Linked DNA regions of Homo sapiens: region 1 is linked to region 2. Evidence: promoter capture Hi-C in human tissues and cell types (Jung and others, 2019). All regions are on one chromosome and are shown on one strand. The core of a region is centred on a gene start or on the middle of the fragment in contact, and the rest is flanking DNA. Distances in the headings are between cores, read along the strand shown. Region 1 overlaps GRK5 (G protein-coupled receptor kinase 5). Region 2 holds the start of PRDX3 (peroxiredoxin 3).

What was found. Contacts are between HindIII fragments. The study calls those that stand out against the background at their distance.
Region 1: a fragment that was not itself captured here is called in contact with the fragment with the promoter of PRDX3 in region 2 in 2 of the 25 tissues and cell types used here (liver and spleen).

What each region holds. Positions count from the first base shown.
Region 1 is chr10:119,275,626-119,282,330 of GRCh38, reverse strand. All of the region lies in intron 1 of GRK5 (G protein-coupled receptor kinase 5), which reads right to left. Among named protein-coding and RNA genes, the nearest start is that of GRK5-AS1, 60 kb to the left of the region's middle. RefSeq lists an enhancer at 737-1,237. The HindIII fragment of the contact is 6,532 bases long and covers 1-6,180 here.
Region 2 is chr10:119,175,631-119,182,238 of GRCh38, reverse strand. PRDX3 (peroxiredoxin 3) reads left to right here and starts at 3,427. Exons shown (of 7, transcript NM_006793.5): 1 at 3,427-3,484; 2 at 5,086-5,218. The coding sequence starts at 3,449. RefSeq lists a silencer at 3,285-3,394 and enhancers at 3,425-3,904, 3,904-4,548. The HindIII fragment of the contact is 15,713 bases long and covers 1-6,608 here.

The sequences.
Region 1 (6,705 bases), core at 1,665-4,164, 100 kb before region 2:
GGAGCTCCAGGAGGAACTGGCCTGGTGAAGACCTGGGAGAATGGTCCAGGCTCAGAGAAAGGTTTGTGCAAATCTAGACTGTGAAAGAGACAGCCCAGTGCTCACTCACGATACTAAAGTAATTTAGGGCCCCAAAATGTGAGTGGGGGGAGGAGCAAGTGAAGTCAGTGGTTTGGAGAGTGCAGCTTGGGTCCGAACTCAAGGAAGAGGTGCTGTGTGAAAAGGCAAATCACAGCAGGGCACACTGGCATGGGGAGATCACACAGAAAGCGACAGTGGCCAGCAGAGCAAGAGACGCAGACCAAGGAGGGGAGGGCAAGGGACAGATGCCCAGGAGGGAGGTCACCAATGGCAATGAGAAACAGGATAGGCTCAACAGATGTCTCCAGGATTTCTGCTTGGGTGACAGGCCACTCAGGCTGTTGTCTGTGCAATGAGATCACGTCTTAGAAATAAGAGATTTAGTCTTTACCGAATCCATCTACAAAGCTAAGTAGCAGCCTGGTTCTCCATCACTGGTTCACAGCAGGGACATTCAGCCAGCTTCTCAGCCACCTCGGGGGATCGGATGACTTGATGGCCTGGCTCGGGGATGGCAGTGCTCAAGGGCACGCTTCCAAATGGGCAGGGGCCCAAGAGAAGAGGCGGCCAACCACCACCCCGGGAACCCAGGGCAACCTGCCAGCTTCAAAGGCTCAGCCGTGCTAAGACCCGAGGTCGGCCAGATCCCTCCCTGTGAAGAAGATGCCACCACAGGAGAGGCTGATTACAGAACAGTGGCTCAAATACAGGCTGTGTGGTCACAAGCATCCGCATACAAGCACCAGGGGTGAGCCGTGCACAGACATGGCCAAAATGAACGAGCCATCACCACTTCTGGGTGCTCGACACCTAATGGGAGCTCAAGAGCAGGGGAGAGGAACAGGAGAGCTCGGGGCAGAGACTGCCAACCCAGGGTAGTTAGTAAAGTAGGGTTAGGGGGGTCCCTGGCCAGACCCACAAGAACTGCTTTGGGAGCAGCCGGGAGGAGCAATTTTTTCCCAAGGAGGCAGTGAAGGCAGCATGTGCAGAGTCCCTGAGAGGAAGGTGAAGAGGTGTCCATGTGAGCAGAATGACCCAGCCCAAGCATGGAGGCAGCACATGGTGGCAAATCCATCTAGATGGAGAAGATCCTTGTGCTGGGGACAGAGTGAGAAAAGTCCTGAAAGCAATGGGCCGGCCCTGAGGCTTTACCCTGCAGAAAACGGGAAATCAGATGGGCGTGGTGGTTCATGCCTGTAATCCCAGTACTTTGGGAGGCCAAGGCGTGTGGATCATGAGGTCAGCAGTCTGAGACCAGCCTGACTAAAATGATGAAACCCCGTCTCTACTAAAAATACAAAAATTAGCTGGGCGTGGTGGCGCACGCCTGTAATCCCAGCTACTCAGGAGGGTGAGGAAGGAGAATTGCTTGAACCCGGGAGGCAGAGGTTGCAGTGAGCTGGGATTGGGCCACGGCACTCTGGCCTGGGTGACAGAGTGAGACTCTGTCTCAAAAAAAAAAAAAAAAGAAAAGGAGGGAGGGAGGGAAGGAAGGAAGGAAGGAAACAGGAAGTCATTGCCTCCAAAGCATTCTGGGAGAAAAATAATTTGGCAGTGCCTCAAAAAATTAAACACGGAATTACCATAGCATCTAGCAATTCCAATTCTAGGTATAGTCCCAAGAGAAGTGAAAACAAGGACTGGAACAGGTACTTATACACCAATATATTTCCATGCTGAGACCCCTAAAATAACAATAAAAGAATAAAACAGGTATCAACTATCCTACAAAGGCTGAGAGATGGGAGGACGAATGACAGCTGACCAGAGCCATCAGAACCACCTATGGAGGATGGCAGAGGGATGGATGGGTGGGCGCTGGCCTTGCTGGCTGGAGAGCCGACATTCACGTTCCTGCAGGTATTAAAACCAACAAGAAAAACTCCATTTGTGAGCTTGAGGCAACAAGTGTGACAGTGCACAGGCTCAGAGAATTGATTCCGTGTGTGTTACGGCACTAACTTTTTGTCACCATGGCCTCAGGACACTCAGACAAAGCATGTTTGGGATAATCCATTACTAAGCATAATTTGTCCCTGGACCAATTTTTGTTAAGTTGCTTTCCCCCTTTCCTGCAGCTGTTCTGCACGGCCAGGGAGAAGCCTCCAGAGATAAGGGTACTAAGGCCTCCAACTCCCTGGGCACAGAGCAGGGGACTTCCTGATGCTTATAGGTATAGCCCCAATACCACAGTTCTCTTGTATTCAGGGCTCTTCCCATTCTGGCCCCAGTGCAATACTCTGGGCACTGGGTTTGTAGGGTTCCTGAGGCAGGAATTCAAGGATGAAAAGAGCCAGTGTAGCCAGGTTGTAGGCATCATGCGCCCTCCTCCTCCACCACCACCCCACCCTCCAGCATGTGCAAACCAGGCGATAACTTCTCCAGAGACACAACAGAGACTTCACACTTTCCCAAAGCTGCTCTACTTTTCACATGATCCCCTAGAGAATGGAGTAGGCTCCTCGAGGGAGAGCACTCACTAGAACACCAGGCAGTTACTGGCACGCACATCAGTGCTGCTGCGTGGCTCTTCTTGCCCTGCAGCGTGGCTCTTCTTGCCCTGCAGCGTTGGAGCTGGCCTCGGCCACAAAGTGCCAGAGGGCTGCAGGCCACCGCCACTCACTCCTTGAGAACCACGGCACGTTTTGAAGGACACACCATCAACAGGAATGAGGAGCCCTTGCTGCTGTCACTGGAGTCAAGTTGGTCTTAACCATCCACTCCCACCCCCCTAGTAGCACCGAGCCCTCCTCCTTCCATCTTCTTTCATCAGAAAACTGGATCTTCCCACTTTCTCTCCCCCAGGATGCTGAGCTGCACAAGGGGAAGAACTATCCAGCTCATCTTTCTATCATAAGCACTGCACTCAGGGCTCAGCACCTGTGATAAGCAGAATTGTATGCCCCCAAATTCCTGTGTTGAAGTTCTAACCCCCAGCACCTCAGAACATGACTGTATTTGGAGAAATTTGAGGATAAGGCCTTTAAAGAGGAGATCATGCAAAAATGAGGCCATTCATTAGGCTGGGCCCCAGCCCAGTGTGACTGATATCTTTATAAAAGAGGTCAGGGGCCAGGCGCAGTGGCTCACGCCTGTAATCCCAGCACTTTGGGAGGCCAAGGCGGGTGGATCACGAGGTCAGGAGATCGAGACCATCCTGGCTAACATGGTGAAACCCCGTCTCTACTAAAAAAAATACAAAAAATTAGCTTGGCATGGTGGCACACGCCTGTAATCCCAGCTACTCGGGAGACAGAGGTGGGAGAATTGCTTGAACCCAGGAGTGAGAGGTTGCAGTGAGCCAAGACTGCACCACTGCACTCCAGCCTGGGCAACAGAGCGAGACTCCGTCTTGAAGAAAAAAGAAGAGGTCAGGACACAGAAAGACACCGGGGTGCAGGTGCATACAGGAAGGACCATGTGGGCTCAGAGCAAGGGGGCGGCCATCTCCTAGCCAAGGAGGGAGGGCTCCAGGGACCCCAATCCTGCTGGCACCTAGGCCTTGAACTTCCAGCCTCCAGACTGGGAGAAAATAACGTCTCATTGTTAAAGCCCCCAGCAAATGAATACAGAACCTAGGAAGGGGCAATGAATGAGTGATAGGTGGAAGGGCTAAGAAGAAAAGAGGAGGGAGAGGAAAGAGACGTGCTCAGATCTGTCTCTTCTGGACATCCGATCCCAGGCTGTCTCTTCAGTGGGCCCAAGTCCAACTAGCAGTCAGCTCAGAAATGATCCCTGAGGCATCGAAGCTTTCACAAGGAGGCCACAAAAGTCGGCTGCCTCTTTAAGACCTCCCTGTGGGACACAGCGACATTGGATAAGGGACTCGCCACACAGCTTGCCAGCCCTACAGAGAGTCAACGCATCTGCCATGGCTTCCCGAAGGCAGTTATGGAGAGAAAGAACTTGAGTGTTCCCCTTCTGCTTGTCCAGCACCCCAAGCAGAGGGGCGGCCTGCAGTGAGGTGCCAAGGCCAAGCTAGCCCTGAGAGAACAGGTGGAGACGGGCACATAGGAGCCATCGCTCAGGGCCATTAGACCGTCTCGGGAAGGGAGAGGCCACAGGAGAATTGGGGAAGCTTATCTAAAAACAACGATTCCTTGTCCCAAAGAATAACCACTTTGGAAAACAGGTTGTCAATTTCTGGAAAAGTTAAACCTATACCTACCATATGATCCAGATGTTCCTAAGTATTTACTCAAGAGAAAAGGAAATCTCTGTCCATAGAGAGACTAGAAACAACCCACCTGCGCAAACAGTTGAGTGGGTAAACAAACTGTGGTCTATCGATACAGTGGGTCACTACTCAATAAGAAAAAGGAATGAACTACTGATACGCCAACAGTGTAGATGAATCTCAAAATCTTCATGCTGAGTAAGTAAAGGCACATGAGAAAGGGTACTTGCTATATGATTCCATCTATAGACAAATCCAGAAAATACAAGCAAATCCAGAAAATACAAGCGAATCCAGAGCGACAGAAAGCAAGAACAGTGGCTGCTTAGGGTTCAGGGGACAGGAAGGGATGACAGGGCAGGATTATAAAGGGGCATGAGTAAACTTTCAGCAGTGATGGATAACTTGTTTGTGGTATGTAGATTCACACGGGTATGGATATATCCTAACTTCTCAAATCATATTCTTTAAATATGTGTGGCTTACTGTCTGTCAATTACACTCAATAAAGTGGTTTTGAAAGAGTACGGATTCCTGGGTCCCAGCCTGGAGAGTCAAGGTCTGTTGTGGCAGGGGTGTCGCAGAGAGCAGAAGAGGGGGAGAGGGGTGTAGCCTCCACTGGCACCCTGGAGCAGGTACAGAATGCATGCAGAGATCATGCCTCAACATCAACAATTATTCCTCCTGGGAAACTACAGACATCGTTATTTTTATTTTGACATCAGGAAACCCCTTCGCGTCCTCCACAACTAGTTTGGAGAGCCACTGGGAAGCAAGAAGTTCACGCAGTCAGCCAGGTGTTGGGTGCCTCCACCCAGCATGGTGGTCTGTGGGCTCTCTTGGGGGTCTGGCCGAAATGATCAAGGTGTCGGCACCCGACACACAAGGTGCGGCAGCACCCAGCAAGAGAATCCCAATCAGCCAACCTTCTGGATCCATGACCCACTGATGCTGCACTTGAAGACATGGAGGTTAAAGATTTGTTCACCAAATTAGGCTAAAACGTGGTCACATGATTCAGAGGTTTGGCCAAGGCATCGGATTTTCCCAAATCACAAAGGCAATGCATGGATATAGGGATATATTAACTTCATGTGCCAATATAAATTGGTACAGAAGTGATGTGTAACGTAATAATAATTGATCATGGTACGACCCTTGTGAACTGCAGGAAGCTATTCCTCTTTCACACAAGAGCCCTAGAGGAGAAGTTAAGACTTGAGTTCAGGTCCCGCTGTGGCAGGACTCCCAAAAGTCCATCCCCGCTTTGACTTTGACAGTTGAATTCCAACTTCTTGGAGTTTTCTACCTTACCCTCCCAGCTGTGTTGCTAAAATGTCAAAGGCAGCTTCAAGAAAACCAAAAACACTCTCTGATTTCACTTTTAAAACGTCAGTGTGGCAATTCCTAAGGGATCTAGAACTAGAAATACCATTTGACCCAGCCATCCCATTACTGGGTATATACCCAAAAGACTATAAATCATGCTGCTATAAAGACACATGCACACGTATGTTTATTGCGGCACTATTCACAATAGCAAAGACTTGGAACCAACCCAAATGTCCAACAATGATAGACTGGATTAAGAAAATGTGGCACATATACACCATGGAACACTATGCAGCCATAAAAAATGATGAGTTCATGTCCTTTGTAGGGACATGGATGAAATTGGAAATCATCATTCTCAGTAAACTATAGCAAGGACAAAAAACCAAACACCACGTGTTCTCATTCATAGGTGGGAATTGAACAATGAGAACACATAGACACAGGAAGGGGACTGTTGTGGGGTGGGAGGAGGGGGGAGGGATAGCATTAGGAGATATATCTAATGCTAAATGACGAGTTAATGGGTGCAGCACACCAGCATGGCACATGTATACATATGTAACTAACCTGCACATTGTGCACATGTACCCTAAAACTTAAAGTGTAATAAAAAAAAGAAAAACTCACCATTTACAACAGAGTCTGAGCTGCATGCCTTTACAATCAAAACCCAGCGTATCCCAGCTCTGAGGTATGAAACTTTAATCTGGCAAACAGAGGAGGAAGGACACTGAGACCTCCTTCAAACCCAAATGAGGGGGATTCTCAAAACCTCCTGAGGAGCTAGCACAGCTATGGAAAATCGGGTCACTGTCTGTGTTTGCAGTATTGCTTAGCGAGACGGTCCCCAAACTCCTGCGGCCCTCCCTTTCCTCACTGATGTTGAATTCGGAACACTAAGCGCATAACACTCATTTTTACACATGCTCAGCCCTCCCCTTCCTCCAAACGCTGCATTTTTCTTCCAATGAGTAATTTCTGAATGCCTTCCAAACGCACCCATCTAATTTTTTGGAGTCTCATTGGGGTCATCAGTCAGAAACAGCAGCAGCCAAAAGCACAGTATGTCATGACTTTAAAACCATTACTCTGTGTGTGTGTGTGTGTGTGTG
Region 2 (6,608 bases), core at 2,178-4,677:
CGTCCGGGAGGGAGGTGGGGGGTTCAGCCCCCCCGCCCGGCCAGCTGCCCCGTCCGGGAGGGAGGTGGGGGGTCAGCCCCCCGCCCGGCCAGCCGCCCCATCTGGGAGGTGAGGGGCGCCTCTGCCCGGCCGCCCCTACTGGGAAGTGAGGAGCCCCTCTGCCCGGCCAGCCGCCCCTTCCGGGAGGGAGGTGGGAGGGTCAGCCCCCCACCTGGCCAGTCGCCCAGTCCGGGAGGGAGGTGGGGGGGGGTCAGCCCCCCGCCCGGCCAGCCGCCCCGTCCGGGAGGGAGGTGGGGGGGGTCAGCCCCCCGCCCAGCCAGCCGCCTCGTCCGGGAGGTGAGGGGCGCCTCTGCCCGGCTGCCCCTACTGGGAAGTGAGGAGCCCCTCTGCCCGGCCACCACCCCGTCTGGGAGGTGTGCCCAACAGCTCATTGAGAACGGGCCACGATGACAATGGTGGTTTTGTGGAATAGAAAGCGGGGAAAGGTGGGGAAAAGATTGAGAAATCGGATGGTTGCCGTGTCTGTGTGGAAAGAAGTACACATGGGAGAATTTTCATTTTGTTCTGTACTAAGAAAGATTCTTCTGCCTTGGGATCCTGTTGATCTGTGACCTTACCCCCCAACCCTGTGCTCTCTGAAACATGTGCTGTGTCCACTCAGGGTTAAATGGATTAAGGGCGGTGCAAGATGTGCTTTGTTAAACAGATGCTTGAAGGCAGCATGCTCGTTAAGAGTCATCACCACTCCCTAATCTCAAGTACCCAGGGACACAAACACTGCAGAAGGCCTCAGGGTCCTCTGCCTAGGAAAACCAGAGACCTTTGTTTACTTGTTTATCTGCTGACCTTCCCTCCACTATTGTCCTATGACCCTGCCAAATCCCTCTCTGTGAGAAACACCCAAGAATGATCAATAAAAATAAAATTAAAAAAAAAAAAAAAAGAAAATCCTGTACCTACTAAATAGTTCCGGCTGGGCGCACTGGCTCACACCTGTAATCCCAGCGCTGTGGGAGGCCAAGGCAGGCAGATCACTTGAGGTCAAGAGTTCGAGATCAGCCTGGCCAACATGGCGAAACTCCGTCTCTACTAAAAAATACAAAAAAAAATTAGCTGGGCATGGTGGTCACACCTGTAGTCCCAGCTACTCGGGAGACTGAGGCAGGAGGATTGCTTGAATCTGGGAGGCAGAGGTTGCAGTGAGCTGAGGTTGCAGTGAGCTGAGATTGCATCACTGTACTCCATCCTGGGCAACAGAGGGAGACTCTGTCTCAAAAATAAATAAATAAAATAAAAAATAAATAGTCAGTCCCCATGCCAGCTTCTCCCAGTCCCTAACAATTGCTGATTTGCTTTCTGTCCCTTTGGAATTACCTATTTTAGATGTTTCATATAAAAGGAAACACACACTATTTGTTCTTTTGTGTCTGGCTTCTTTCACTTAGCTAGTGTTTTCAAAGTTCATCTGTGTTGTAGCATATATCAGTATTTCATTCCTTTTATGGATAAATAATATTCCATTGTGAACTACAGTATTTTTTTTTTTTTTTTTGAGACGGAGTTTCAATCTTGTTGCTGAGGCTGGAGTGCACTGGTTCAATTTCGGCTCACTGCAACCTCTGCCTCCCAGGTTAAAGTGATTCTCCTGCCTCAGCCTCCCAAGTGGCTGAGATTACAGGTATGCACCACCATGCCCAGCTAATTTTGCAATTTTTAGTAGAGAAAGGGTTTCACCATGTTGGTCAGGCTGGTCTTGAACTCCTTACCTCAGGTGATCCACTCACCTCAGCTTCCCAAAGTGCTGGGATTACAGATGTGAGCCACTGCGCCCGGCCTACAGTACGATTTTGAGCTCCAAAATGATTGTCTCCTTTTCAATCATCTGCTAAACACAGACATAATTAAAACCAATTAAACAAACACAAGGAAGGTGTGAGGTGAAATAGTCGAAACGTGTGTCCCCACACATCCAAGGCAGTCCTTTCCACATCTGGGGACTGGTACCCAGGGTGGCGCCTAGTGGTACCTGAGATGATTTTAGAAAATATACTGGGCTGGGTGTGGTGGCTCACGCCTGTAATCCCAGCACTTTGGGAGGCCAAGGTGGGAGGATCACCTGATGTCAGGAGTTCAAGACCAGCCTAGCCAATATGGTGAAACCCCATCTCTACTAAAAATACTAAAAAAATTAGCCGGGTTTAGTGGTGCACGCCTGTAATCCCAGCTACTCGAGAGGCTGAGCCAGAAGAATCGCTCGAACCAAGGAGGTAGAGGTTGCAGTGAGCCGAGATTGTGCCACTGCACTCTAGCCTGGACGACAGAGTGAGACTCTGTCTCAAAAAAGAAAAGGAAAAAAAAAAAAGAAAGCCAATTTAAAGAAAATAGTAAGTGATATTTGGTGATAAGAAGACTTGAGAAACGAAGTTGCTAATTGAATGACTAGTGATTGGAAAATACCAACTCAGACCGGGTGCAGTGGCTCATGCCTATCATCCCAGCACTTTGGGAGGCCGAGGTGGGCGGATCACTTGAGGTCAGGAGTTTGAGACCAGCCTGGCCAACATGGTGAAACCCCATCTCTACTTAAAATACAAAAACTTAACTGGGCATGGTGGCAGGCGGCTGTAATCCCAGCTGCTCAGGAATCCCAATTACTCATGAAGCTCAGGCAGGAGAATCGCTTGAACCCGGGAGGCAGAGGTTGCAGTGAGCCAAGATCATGCCACTGCACTCCAGCCTGGGCGACAGAGCAAGACCCAGTCTCAAAAAAAAAAAAAAAGAAAAGAAAAGAAAAGAGAAAAGAAAATACCAGCTCCAAGACTGCAATTTGTCACACTTACTGTAAGGCCACGGTGTGATTTTTATCTATGTTTGATGTGGTTGCTTCAAGTACTATGCTCACCACTGAACACTTGGCTTCATTAATAGACAAAAACCAAATTTTAAATTTGTCCCAGTTTTCCCAATTTTGGGAAGAGAGGCCAAATGTTAGACCACACACAATTCCAGCGGATTTCAGGCCAACAAAGCCTTGATGTGTCTAGCCCACTTAGCTTATTAACGGACTAAAACTGCATTTGTAATTAATTCCATTTCATACAGAAGCCGGAAGTCTCTACCTGAGGCTGAAATAAGAAAGGGATCCTGTCACAGAAATACTAGACACAGTAATCCACACAAGGTTAACAAAACAGTGGGAAATATGGAAACAAATACCTAATGCCCCGCCTGGATTCGTTCTTTTAAGGTTGGGGCGACAGTAGGAAAACCACGTGTCACTTGCCCAAGCATTCAGCCTTAAAGGGAATTTCTCCCTCAGGGTCTCCAGGAGGCGGGGAGGCGGTGGCTCCTCCGGCCCCGCCCCCCCACCAGCAGAGGGCCCGCTCACCACCCCGTAGGCCCCGCCCCTGCGTCTCTGCCCGCCCCGTGGCGCCCGAGTGCACTGAAGATGGCGGCTGCTGTAGGACGGTTGCTCCGAGCGTCGGTGAGTGGCTGTCGGCTGGGGACAGGCGTGGAGACACTGGTGGCTCCGGGAACGTGCTTCTCAGACAGGACCCCGCGCTTCTGGGCATGAGGGCCATTCGCCCTTCTTGGAGGGTTTCCGCGGGTAACGGACCCAGAGGCCTCCCTCCGGGAAGGTTCCATGCGCCTGCGCAGAACCGCCCTTCCCCACTCCATCCTCGCGGTCTCTTCCCCGAGTCCCTCCTCTTTCGGCGTCCCCGGTCCCCAGGCCCATCTCCACTTAAGGTCCTGGCCCTGATTCTGCCACCGACCCTGTGATCTTGGGCAAGCGCCTTCGCCTTTCTCAGACTGTGTACTTAAGATGGAAAGAATGATGCCTACATCAAGGCGTTGCTGTGAACAGCCCCTTAAATACTGGATAAAAACGCGCAAAGTGCTAAAAAACTCACAAAGGCTTTCCCTCCCAATCCCACTCCCGCGTGTTTCTGCTGCTGTTTCCTGCTTAACTGTGGGCAATGCGTCGTGCTCTTTTGGTACACGGCTTTCTCTGGTGGGGTTCAACACAGCCCCTTTCGTTCTCCTGAGTCATTTTGAACATTAAAGTTGAGCAAACCGGCAGAGTGCGGTGGCTCACGCCTGTAATCCTAGCACTTTGGGAGGCCGAGGCGGGCAGATCACTTGAGCCCAGGAGTTTGAGACCAGCCTGGACAATAATAGTGAGACCTTGTCTCTAAAAAAAAAAATAGCCGGGCATGGTGGTCAGTGCTCCTGGGGAGGCTAAGGTGGGAGGATCACTTGAGCCCAGGAGGTCGAGACTGCAGCGAGCCGAGATCGCGCCACTGCACTCTAGCCTGGGTAAAAGAGCGAGACTCTGTTTCAAAAAAAAAAAAAAAAAGTTGAGTAAACATGTCCCTTGAGCCTTTAACAGACTCCCAGAGGCTGAATTTGGCTCTTCTTGTTTACTTGTCGCTGGTGCTGGAGGGGCCTTGTTTTTCTAAGGAAAACCTTGAAATGGTAGAACATACTCAGCAGATAGTGCTGGGAAAAGCCTGCACAAGTCCCCTGGCTTCTGAACCCTGTGTTGCTTTAAGCGCATGGAGTTTCTGATTTTTTTTTTTTTTTTTTTTGAGACGGAGTTGTCGCCCAGGTTAGAGTGCAATGGCGCGATCTCGGCTCTGCAACCTCTGCCTCCCGGGTTCAAGCAATTCTCCTGCCTCAGCCTCCCAAGCAGCTGGAATTACAGGTGCCCGCCACCGCCGCCTGGCTAAGTTTTGTGTTTTTAGTAGAGATGGAGTTTCACCATCTTGGCCAGGCTGGTCTCGAACTCCTGACCTGGTGATCAACCCGTCTTGGCCTCCCAAAGTGCTGGGATTACAGGTGTGAGCAACCGCGCCCAGCCGGTCTTTGTGTTCTTATAGTTCCTCTCCACCTTCCAGTCTCCTAGGAGAAGGAAGCAGAAGGGAGTGTTAAGAACATGCAGATCCAATCCATGCTCTTAGAGTTTGGGGTTTGCTATTTGGTTCACAGGAACAGGGACAGCTGAAACCACCGTTGGCACGATGCCCTTTCAGCCTTCAGTCACCAGTCCAGGAAAACTTTCTAATAAAAAGTTTCTCTTTCCAGGTTGCCCGACATGTGAGTGCCATTCCTTGGGGCATTTCTGCCACTGCAGCCCTCAGGCCTGCTGCATGTGGAAGAACGAGCTTGACAAATTTATTGTGTTCTGGTTCCAGTCAAGCAAAATTATTCAGCACCAGTAAGTGTTATGTCATGTCTTGGCTGGAGCCAGGTAAAGGAAAAATGAACCATCGTCTCTGGACAGGGGCTCTGAACCCTGGCCAAACGTTAGAGTCACCTGGGAGCTTTCAGGAACACAGCACTGCCCCCGTCCCACCCCAGACAAGTTAGTCTGTGGGGTGAGACCAGGATGTGCCGGGTGATTCTAACGTGCAGCCAGGGTTGAGAATCACTGAGGCAAACTGCCCTTGTCACATTTCCATGTTGGTTGTCAGAGTTTCTAATCCACTGTGTTGAGGAGGGTGTTACTGGGAGCTCAGATGCCTTCTGAGTCTAGTGTGTCTGAAGAGCTGTGAGTGGTGGGCAGCCTGTGGGGGACCTGAGAGGGCAGCTGCTCTAAGATTCAAACCTGTGTAATGGCCCCAGCTGGCCACTTAGGAACCAGACCTGTCTAATGGTATCTGTAATCTGAGCGAAATTTAGCTGTTTCTTGAGATTTACACTCCCTTCTCTAGGATATGGGCTTTGCTAAGATCAGCCTCAGATAATGAGTGGTATTTGAAAATACCTTGTCTAGATTTGACTAGCCTTTGAAAAAGCCCGTATTTAATATGTAATGGTTTGTGGGGATATACTTTAGTAAAGCCTTTGTTTGTGGGCAAAATGTTCTAAGAGCTTTCGCAATTTTACTACCCTGGAGCTTCAAAATATTTCTAGTAGTGATGTGATACCACAGGCTTAAAACTTTACTCCACTGGTTTCGAATCCTCATCCCCAGCAGCGCCTCCTGTTTCTGTTCATGGCGGTGTCAGGCATTTTGACATTGGAACTACTCTGTCGCTCATTCCTGGGTAGAAGCAAGTCCTTTTCAGTTTTGACACATCTCTTGCATCCATTCCTTTCTGTTCTTTCTGCCCCATACCTCCCCTCAATACGTCTAAGATCACTGAAATCGAGGCTGGGCACAGTGGCTCACACCTGTAATCCCAGCACTTTGAGAGGCCAAGGCAGGCGAATTACTTGAGGTCAGGAGTTCAAGACCATCCTGGCCAACCTGGTGAAATCCCGTCTCTACTAAAAATACTTAAAAAAAATAAGCCGGGTGTGGTGGTGTGCTACTGGAATCCCAGCTACTTGGGAGGCTGAGGCAGGAGAATTGCTTGAACCTGGGAGGCGGAGGTTGCAGTGAGCCGAGACCATGCCACTACACTCCAGCCTAGGTGACAGAGCGAAACTCTGTCTCAAAAAAAAAAAAATCACTGAAACCACCTCCTAACATGTCTCCCCCTTCCTCCTGCTCCTCTTTCCCTCCTGCCGGACTAATCTTCCTAAAAACCCCCATCTCAGCCAGGCACTGTGGCTCACGCCTGTAATCCCAGCACTTTGGGAGGCCGAGGCTGGCAGATCAC